3 separate regions of the Homo sapiens genome follow, and regions 1 and 2 are each linked to region 3. The links are contacts of gene promoters, found by promoter capture Hi-C in human tissues and cell types (Jung and others, 2019). All regions are on one chromosome and are shown on one strand. The core of a region is centred on a gene start or on the middle of the fragment in contact, and the rest is flanking DNA. Distances in the headings are between cores, read along the strand shown.

Region 1 (3,465 bases), core at 966-3,465, 590 kb before region 3:
TGGAAAAGGAGGTGTGAGGGAGCCGGAAAGGATGATGTTGGGGCCTGGAGTGGCCACATGGGGGCAGTGGAGCGTCACTGACATCAGCCAGACTGGTCCTCGGGACAGTGGGAGGCTGGGGTGGTCACTGAGCCTGGGCCGAGCGCCCTCCATGAGGCTGGCTCCATCCAGCAGGGCCAGGATCATGGAAGCCAAGTCATGGGAATTCCCTCGAGACCTGGGCATGAATTCACATTCCTCCATTTATAGCTGCATGACCTAGGCCTCACCTGCAAGTGCAGGTAATAATGGAGAATCAGATGAGAGATTCTAGGCAAAATGCCCAGACCAGTACGGGGCACACAGTCCATGTTGAGTAAATGGCAGCTAAATAGTCCGAGTCCAGTAAAAACGCCTCTTGTAACTGGTGCCTCAGTCTTGGGCTGGTACACAAGCAGTCTAGGCAAGGCCTGTAGCCTCCAGGCCTCAGTTTTCTTTCTTTTTTTTTTTTTTTAGATGGAGTCTCGCTCTGTCACCCAGGCTGGAGTGCAGTGGCGCAATCTCGGCTCACTGCAAGCTCCGCCTCCCAGGTTCATGCTATTCTCCTGCCTCAGCCTCCTGAGTAGCTGGGACTACAGGCGCCCGCCACCACACCCGGCTAATTTTTTATATTTTTAGTAGAGATGGGGTTTCACCATGTTAGCCAGGATGGTCTTGATCTCCTGACCTTATGATCCGCCCTCCTTGGCCTCCCAAAGTGTTGGGATTGCAAGGCGTGAGCCACTGCGCCCAGCCTCCAGGCCTCAGTTTTCTTATGTGTAAATGGGGATGATAAAACCCGGACCTGCCTATGAACGGTTCAGTTGGATCAAAGTAGAATGAGTGCAGAAGAAGAAGCATGATTTGTAAAAGATGGTACAAAAGCTAGTATTTTAAAAGGTGTTTTACAAAGCACTTTCACATCCAGGTTTTTGACCTTATTTTGACTTTCATGTCTCTGTTAAGTTGATCTGAGATATACGGAGTCTTAAGAAAGGCCAGGTGACTTGCCTAGAGCCACTCAGTGAGAAGCCAGACTGGGGCTGACTCACGCTGCCCGATTCCTGCGCAGTGCTCAGTGCGTGCTGGGAGAACTCCACAAGGGGAGCGAGGCAGCCTCTTTCACCATCCTGTGTGATGGAGCCACCCTGCCCAGATCCCCTTCAGAGAAGGGCTTGTTGCCCCAGTGGCCAGCAGTGTGGCCAGCAGGCAGTTTTCAACTGTCAGCCCCTTTGGGGATGTTCCCTGCTTCAGAGAGCTCTCCTCAGTCACTGGATGCCCTTCCTCATCCAGTGATTGAATGAGGTAGGGGTTATAATGTTCCAGATATTTTGGACCCAACGTAGGCTGAGTGACAGGCCACCGTAGCCCCAGAGCTCCCTGCGGGGGTGGCTGAGGCTGCCATGGGCCTCTGTTGCCACTTAACCTCTCCCTCTTCCCTGTCCTGCTTCCTTCTCCCCCTCACAAATGTTGATTCTGAAAGTACTCTCTAATCGAAATCCTGCATTCCAGACCCCACCTCAGAGTTCACTCCCCGAGAGCCCAACCTGCAACACGTCAAGCAGACTGCCACCCTGTCAGTCCATGGCTGATGGAGGACAGATGACAAGATATACCCTGGGCTGCTGCCAGTAGCAGCCCCTCAAGCCTTGGTAGGGTCTGGAGTCAGACTCAGCCACCACTGACCTAGCCCCTACTCCAAGTTGACCATCTTCAGAGCCGGGTACTCACTGGATCTTCACACACTCTTTGTTAGAGGAATGACTCCCCCAGGTTTCGGATGGAGAAACTGAGGTCCCAAGAAGGGTGGTCACAGACCAGAAGCCAGCTTCCAGCACTTTCTCCCAGCATTAACCCCAGGGGAGGTGAGGGATCACCCATCTTTCCCCCTCCCTCTTGGGAACAGTTGATTCACCCAGCAGCACTAGGAAGAGACCCCATGCCCTGGCCACTGGGCTAGCTCCTGTCCAGGCCCCATTGTAATCGAATCCCAAATCAGGAGCCTTCCCCAGCTCCATGATGTCGGGGAGGAGGAGGAAAGGTCAGGGGCCAGCTGGGTGGTGCCAATCCATTGGCCCTACCTTAAAGACAAACATCTCGCCCCGGAAGAGGGCCACTGTGTTGAAGTTGCCGTCACAGATGTTGGGTTTGGTGCCTGGTGTGGATGGCCGGTCCCCGAGGGGCGGCCGAGGGGGCCTGGGCTGGCGCTCGTGTTTCCTCTCCGATGGTGAGTGGATCCTGCGGACGGGGAGTGTAGGGAGTGGCCTTGTGGGCTCCAGAGGCTCGGCTGGGGGTCCTGGAGAGAGGAGCTGCATCTTAGAGAGGGGGCAGCCGTTTCCCGCCTCCCATTGCCAGTCTCAGCATCACCCAGGCAGCTCTGAGACAAGTCTGTCCCAGTTCAGCCTCCTGTTCCCTCTCCCCAGTTTAACTCCCCCAGTCTTTGAGAAAATGGATGAAAATAGCCATTAGAATGGGACTCTCATCTTTCCATCCCCGAATCTGGTATCTTCTCTTTTCTCTCTCCTGTTACAGAGCAATCATGTCCTTCCTTAGGGTCAGCGCTCTTCCTTAGGCCATACCCTCTTTGCCCCCTTCACACGCACTGGCCCCACTTCCTCACCCCCTTCATTTATTCTCTTTCCCACCCCAGTGCAGCTTCTACCCGTCACCCACTCCAACTGCTCTGCCAAGATCATCCAATGGTTACTTGACTCAGACTTTAATAAGCACATGCATCATCTGGGGATGTTGCTAAAATGCAGATGAGGGCTCAGAGGGCCTGGGGTGGGGCCTGAGAGTTTGCATTCCTTCACACTCTCAGGTGATGCTGATGCTGCTGGTCTGAAGACTACATTTTGAGCAGCAAGATTCATAGAAACACTTTCCTGGAAACACTCTCTTGGTTGTCCTCCTGCCTCATGGGCTGTTCTTTCTCAGTCTCCTTTGCTGGCTGCGTGTCCTCATCTGCCCTACTCTAGAGGCTGGCGTGCCCTTGGGTCCTCTTCTCTTCCGTCTCTACATTTTCATCCTTAGGTCAGTGCTTCTTCACTTGGGCTGCATATTAGGATCACCTTTGGGAGCTTTTCAAACTGGATGTTCAGGAAGCACCAGGCCAGCTCTCCAACTTTTTTTTTTTTTTTTTTTTTTTTGAGAAGGAGTCTCGCTCCGTCCCCCATGCTGGAGTGCAGTGGCGTGATCTAAGCTCACTGCAACCTCTGCCTCCCAGGTTCAAGTGATTCTCCTGCCTCATCCTCCCAAGTAGCTGGGACTACAGGCACGTACCACCACACCCAGGTGATTTTTTTTTTTTTTTTTTTTTTTTTTTAGCAGAGATGGGGTTTCACCATGTTGACCAGGCTGGTCTTGAACTCCTGACCTCAAGTGATCCACCCACCTTGGCCTCCCAAAGTGCTGGGATTACAGGCGTGAGCCACCACGCCCAATACC
Region 2 (3,231 bases), core at 15-2,514, 770 kb before region 3:
GGAACTGCAGGAGAGGGGCCAGTAGGGAACCCCTGAAGAGTGTATAAAAGCACCCCATGATGCTTTGATGATGGATAGAGATGGCTATAAACATCTGCGAGGCCCAGAAAGCACTAAGCCAGCTATTACACTGGTTCAAAGAAGACTTTTCCCACCCCCATCTTCCTCTCCATGTTAACATGGAGACATGTTGAGTGACTAAAGTGAGCTGAGGATGACAGAGAGGGAAAAATAGAGGGAAAAAAAGTCAACCACTTTCCTCTTTCTTTCTCACTGCAAGGTAACAGTCTGGAGCACCAAAACGATAGTCTCTTGCTGCTGTTCCTCTGAGTCCATTCTTTTTTTTTTTTTTTACAGAGTCTCACTTTGTAGCCCAGGCTGGAGTGCAGTGGCACGATCTTGGCTCATTGCAACCTCCGCCTCCTGGGTTCAAGTGATCCTCGTGCCTCAGCCTCCTGAGAAGCTGGGATTACAGGCGCCCACCACCACCACACCCAGCTTTTTTTTTTTTTTTCAGTAGAGATGGGGTTTCACCATGTTAGCGAGGCTGGTCTTGAATTCCTGACCTCAAGTGATCCGCCCACCTCGGCTTCCCAAAGTGCTGGGATTACAGGCGTGAGCCGCGACGCCCGGCCCATTCTCTCTCTCTCTCTTTTTTTTTTTTTAAGAGACAGGGTTTTGCTCTTTCACTCAGGTTGGAGTGCAGTGATTTGATCATAGCTCACTGCAGCTTCAATCTCCTGGGCTCAAGCGATCCTCCTGGCTCAGCCTCCCGAGTAGCTAAGACTATAGGCCTGTGCCACCAGTCCTGGCTAATTTGTTTAAAAATTTTTTTGTAGAGATGGGGACTCACTGTGTTGTCCAGGTTGGTCTTGAATTCCTGGCATCAAGCAATGTTCCTACTTTAGCCTCCCAAAGTGCTGGGATTATAGGCTTGAGCTGCCGCGCTGAAGTTCCATTCATTCATTATTTTTAAAATATTGATTGAGCACCTACTGTGTGCCAAAAGTTGAGTTATGCACTGGGAGGGACCCAAAGAACAATAATAAATGAACTCTGTCCAGAGCCTCTGTTCACAAACTCACATGGCAGGCAAGCAAGTAAAGAAATAGTTCACACACACACAGTGTAGTAAATTCTATAAAGAGGGAGCAGCTGGCTACACAGCATCAGGCCACTATGACTTGTTTGTGAAGGATAAAAACGCTAAAATTAGCCAGGTGTGGTGGTGCACTACTGTAGTCCCAACTATTCTGGAGGCTGAGGTAGGAAGGATCGCTTGAGCCCAGGAGGTTGAGGCTGCAGTGAGCTGTGTTCAAGCCACTGCACTCCAACCTGGGCAACACAGCAAGACCCTGTCTCAAAAAAAAAAAATGCTAAGCAGACAAGCCAGGCATGGTGGCATGTGGCTGTAGTCCCACCCACTCAAGAGGCTGAGTCAGAAGAACCTCTTGAGCTTAGGAGTTTGAGACCAGCCTGGGCAGCATAGCAAGACCCCATCTCAAAAAAAAATGCTAAGCAAAGTGGCAGGGGTGGGGTGGTGGCGGGGATTCCAAGCAGCATGTGCAAAGGCACAGCAGCATGCTAGAGCATGGGATGTGTTAGGAATGCCGGACACTCCTCTTGCTGATGCCACCATCTGGTTGAATTGTGTCAATCTCCCTAGTTGGATTCCCTTTGTCAGCTGGATATTTTCTCCCTGGTCCTGACCCCGCCTCAGTAGGCAGTTCTTATTCCAGTCCTAGCCCCCTCTCACTCACTAAGTCAGGCTCGAAGTGACCAGCGTACCCAAGCTTGAGATTCTTGAAGTGGATGACATCTTTTCACTATCACTCAGGGCTTGGGCAATAAAGGATGTCCAGTCACAGTTCCCACAGGACCAGGTCCTCTCCTTCCTCAAAAATGGGCCCTTGGTCAGGCCTGATGGCTCATGCCTGTAATCCCAGCACTTTGGGAGGTGGAGGCAAGTGGATCGCTTGAAGCCAGAAGTTTGAGACCAGCCTGGCCAACATGGCGAAACCCTGTCTCTACTAAAAATACACAAATTAGCCGGGCCTGGTGTCGTGCACCTGTGATCCCAGCTGCTCGGAAGGCTGAGGCACAAGAATCGCTTGAACCTGTGAGGAGGAGGTTACAGTGAGCCAAGATTGCTCCACTGCACTCCAGCCTGGGTGACAGAGTGAGACAAAAAAAAAAAAAAAAAAAAAGTCGGGGGGGCCCTTAACTATATATATATATATATTTTTTTTTTTTTTTTTGAAAAAAACAAAAAGTCCCGTAGCCAGGACTACAGATGTGCACCACCGCGTCCAGCTTGCCTTATGTTCTTGAGCAACCCTCTTTCCCTTTCTGAGCCTCAAATTCCTCAGCTGCAATATGGGGATAACAGTACTTACCAGCTAGGGTTCTTATACACAAAGTGGGAATTAGAATTAGATGGAGGGAAGGAGGAGTGGAGGAGTCCAGCAAGGATCTGAGATTTCTGAGCTCAAGAATGACAACAAGGTTTCCAGTGATTAGAGAGGTTTCCTGTGATTAGAGAGATTGGGGTGTGAGGGGAGAGGGGAACTTTCTCTTTTAACTTTATAAACTTTGGTATTATTTGAATATTTTTACAATGAACATGATTTAATTTTATAATCAAATATATTTGGTATGAATATCATGCATCGATAAAAAGGTGTTTAAATTTTTTTTTTATTTTATAGAGACGGGCTTGTGCCATGTTGCTCAGACTGATCTCCAACTCCTGGGCTCAGGCAGTTTTCCCGCCTCAGCCTCCCAAAGTGCTGGGATTACAGGCATGAGCCACCGTGCCCTGCCTAATAAAGTTTTTAAAAAGCTGATGTTACTATATTGTGTGGAAAGTCATCTAGGAGACTGATCAGAGTTGTTGCTTCTGGGGAGGACTGAAAGACCCAGGGTCTGGGGTGGGAGGAAAATATTTTCTTTTGCATTCTTTTCTACTGTTTGAATTTTTAAAATCATGAATTCATATTACTTTTCTTCCTAATATGTATGACTTTTTATAAGTTTTAGAATTATTTTAAAAATAAAAATATTTTCTAGAATAAATATGTAAAACATGTGGTTATTTTATTCACACCCCTCTACCCACAACAGACAGACACACGCAACACTCACATACAATTTCCAGCTTCAGATTGTAGTACAGGTATTTGCAGCCCAGGGAAGGAATTTGATTGACTTATGGACAGAAGGCCCAGAGAC
Region 3 (3,002 bases), core at 486-2,985:
GGGCTCTCCAAACCCCAAACCCCTGATTTGTAGTGTTTGCTGATTCCTGTGGTGTAAACACTCGCATTGGGAGGGATTTTCAATCTATCAACCTGAGGAAACTGAACACCACCATTTGGGAAGAGAAAGAGATAGTATTTGCTGTACTGATACAGCGGTGGTAAATAATCTCAAAAGCACATATAAAAAAAAGTGTAGTAAAATAATTAGAAAGTGACGTGTTGAATATGTATTCCGTTGTTTTCAATATAAGTTATTTAACTGTAGGTTTATATGTCTTAATTTTCAAAAATGCCTGTGTTTAAAAGCGACTGGCAAAATTTCTAAGCCTTCCGGCCAGGCACGATGACACAAGCCTGTAATCCCAGCACTTTGGGAGGCCGAGGCAGGCAGGTGGATCGCCTGAAGTCTGGAGTTCGAGACCAGCCTGACCAACATAGAGAAACCCTGTCTCTACTAAAATTACAAAAAATTAGCCGGGCGTGATGGCGCATGCATGTAATCCCAGCTACTCGGGAGGCTGAGGCAGGAGAATCGCTTGAACCTGGGAGTCGGAGGTTGCAGTGAGCTGAGATCGCGCCATTGCACTCCAACCCGGGCAATAAGAGCGAAACTCCGTTTCCAAAACAAAAAAAAAATTTCTAAGCCTTCCTCAACTGTCCCTAGTTAGCCTATAATCAGCACATTTTTCAGCACACAAGGGTTAAGCGACTTGTTGAACTAGCTAATAAATCAGTCTACTACTCCAAAACGCATCTGTAGAACCTAACATAGTGCCTGGAAAATAGTTGGCGTTTAACAAACAACTGCCAGAATAAATTTTTTAAAAAATACACATTTAACACTCTTTAAAAACATAAAAGGTACCAGCCTGGGCAACATGGCGAAACCCCGTCTCTACTAAAAGTACAAAAACTTAGCCGGGTGTGGTGGCGCGCACCTGTGGTCCCAGCTACTCTGGAGCCCGGGAGGTCCAGGCTGCAGTGAGCTGAGATTGCGCCACTGCACTCCAGCCTGGGCGACGGCACTGAGACCCTGTCTCAAAAACAAAAAACATAAACATTTTGGGCAGGGTGCGGTGGCTCACGCCTGTAATCCCAGCATTTTGGGAAGCCGAGGCGGGCGGATCACCTGAGGTCAGGAGTTCGAGACCAACCTGGCCAACATGGTGAAACCCCATCTCTACTAAAAATACAAAAAAAAAAAAAAAAAAAAAATAGCCGCGCGTGGTGGTGGGCGCCTGTCATCCCAGCTACCCAGGAGGCGGAAGTTGCAGTGAGCCAAGATCGCGCCACTGCACTCCAGCCGGACGACAGAGCGAGACTCCGTCTCAAAAAAAATAAAAATAAAAATAAAAATAAACATTTTGGCATTGAAAACATACACGCAAGAGTGAATTTAACATCTGTTTAAAAGTCTCTCACAATCCCAGGAAGGCGACTACTTCCGCTTCTACTTTCAGCAGCGTTTCAGCCCCGCTATAGCGGCGCGGCTTCACAAAACACCTGCGATCGTAGAAGGTTTCGCCCCACCTTCTGCATACGCAGCTTGAGGCGCCCGCTTTCCGTCGCTCCGGCCCGCCTCGCCGCAAGGCTTTCTGGGAGCCGTAGTCCCCACGTCTGGCCTCTCCGGCGCCAGCGGCAGCGCGCGCCCACCCGCGGAACTACAGAGCGTGGCGCACAGCGCGCGAGGCTCCTCCGCCTCGCCTTCCCTCCCCGCCCGCGCGCCCGCCCCAGTTATCATGGCGGCTCCCTTGGTCCTGGTGCTGGTGGTGGCTGTGACAGTGCGGGCGGCCTTGTTCCGCTCCAGTCTGGCCGAGTTCATTTCCGAGCGGGTGGAGGTGGTGTCCCCACTGAGCTCTTGGAAGAGAGGTGAGGCCACTGGCTCGAGCAGACTGTCAGGCCCCACCTGCCCTCCCGCGGCCTCTGTGAATGGGAGGCGGGGGCAGTGACCGCCAGCGCGCGGTTCCTAGAGAACTAACTGACTGTCTCGTGGGGTTCTTGGAGAGGGCGGGGCCTGAGGGCGGGGCTGGTGAGGGGAGGGGGCGTGGGGACCGGGGCGTGGGGACAGTGTCGTGAGGTTTGGGCCCTGGGGGCCGGACCACCTAGTGGTGGGGATCTGAGGGGGCGTGTCCCATTCAGTGTCCTGAGCCGAGGAGTGTGGTCTGTGGGAAGGGTTGGAATAAGAGGAGGAGGTGCTTGTGGAGCGCGGCTTGCAGAGGAGTTTGGGATTTGGGGCGGGATCGCCAGGGGTGCTCCCTGGGATAAAAGGTTATGTGTGAGGGGGTCCGGGATGAGGGGACCAATTTTGCTTAAGCGAGGAGAGTGTGCGTGTGCTTTAGACGTCTCTTCTCAGTCTGGGACTTGCAGGGCAATTTTTGTTACTGTTCCTTACTAAGTTCTTCACCGAACATTGTTTTATACTAACGCCTACAGCGAGAAAGCGAAGTTGGCCTGAAGTAGCTGCACAGGCTAGTGAGGGAGACAAATCGTTATAATAATTCATGAAAAGTATACTTTATGTGTCCACCCAGTTCCTTCCTTAGTATTCTGACCCTGAATAAACTATCCCCTACCTTTCCAGTTTTCCAGAATGTGGGATTTGAGCTGACTCTTGAAGGATGTAGGGTTTTGAAAGGGAGATTAGAGAAAAGGAGAGTTCCAGGTAGCAGAAAGTAAATAGGATGAAGAAACGTTCAAGGATGTGAAATGTCCAAAGCAGGGGAGTAATGGGGTGGAAGCTAGGTTTAGGCCAGAGTTTGATGATTAAAAAAAAACAAACAACTTTTTTTTTTTTTTTTTTACTGAAGTACAGTATACATACAATGCATATTAAGTAAGTGTAGAGTTCAATGAATTTTTAAAAACTGTATTCACTCATGTAGCCAGCACCTAGTTCAAGAAACAGTATCAGCACCCCAGAAGTCCCCTTTGTGTCCTTTAAATGCTAAAGTTTTTTTGTTTTTGTTTTTGTTTTTTGTTTAGAGACAGGGTCTTTCTATG

The links. The method cuts DNA at HindIII sites, captures the fragments that hold promoters and counts their contacts. A contact is called where the count stands out against the background at its distance.
Region 1: a fragment that was not itself captured here is called in contact with the fragment with the promoter of PIGU in region 3 in 1 of the 25 tissues and cell types used here (dorsolateral prefrontal cortex).
Region 2: a fragment that was not itself captured here is called in contact with the fragment with the promoter of PIGU in region 3 in 1 of the 25 tissues and cell types used here (dorsolateral prefrontal cortex).

Annotation. Positions count from the first base shown.
Region 1 is chr20:35,266,054-35,269,518 of GRCh38, reverse strand. All of the region lies in intron 2 of MMP24-AS1-EDEM2 (MMP24-AS1-EDEM2 readthrough), which reads left to right. MMP24 (matrix metallopeptidase 24) reads right to left here. Exons shown (of 9, transcript NM_006690.4): 6 at 2,100-2,314. Among named protein-coding and RNA genes, the nearest start is that of MMP24-AS1-EDEM2, 10 kb to the left of the region's middle. The HindIII fragment of the contact is 9,806 bases long and covers 1-3,465 here.
Region 2 is chr20:35,447,425-35,450,655 of GRCh38, reverse strand. It overlaps a transcript of GDF5 not described here. Among named protein-coding and RNA genes, the nearest start is that of MIR1289-1, 5.1 kb to the left of the region's middle. The HindIII fragment of the contact is 8,774 bases long and covers 1-3,231 here.
Region 3 is chr20:34,675,825-34,678,826 of GRCh38, reverse strand. It overlaps PIGU (phosphatidylinositol glycan anchor biosynthesis class U), which reads left to right and starts at 1,735. Exons shown (of 12, transcript NM_080476.5): 1 at 1,735-1,871. The coding sequence starts at 1,742. RefSeq lists enhancers at 495-1,380, 1,381-2,267 and silencers at 1,666-1,775, 2,016-2,115. The HindIII fragment of the contact is 20,123 bases long and covers 1-3,002 here.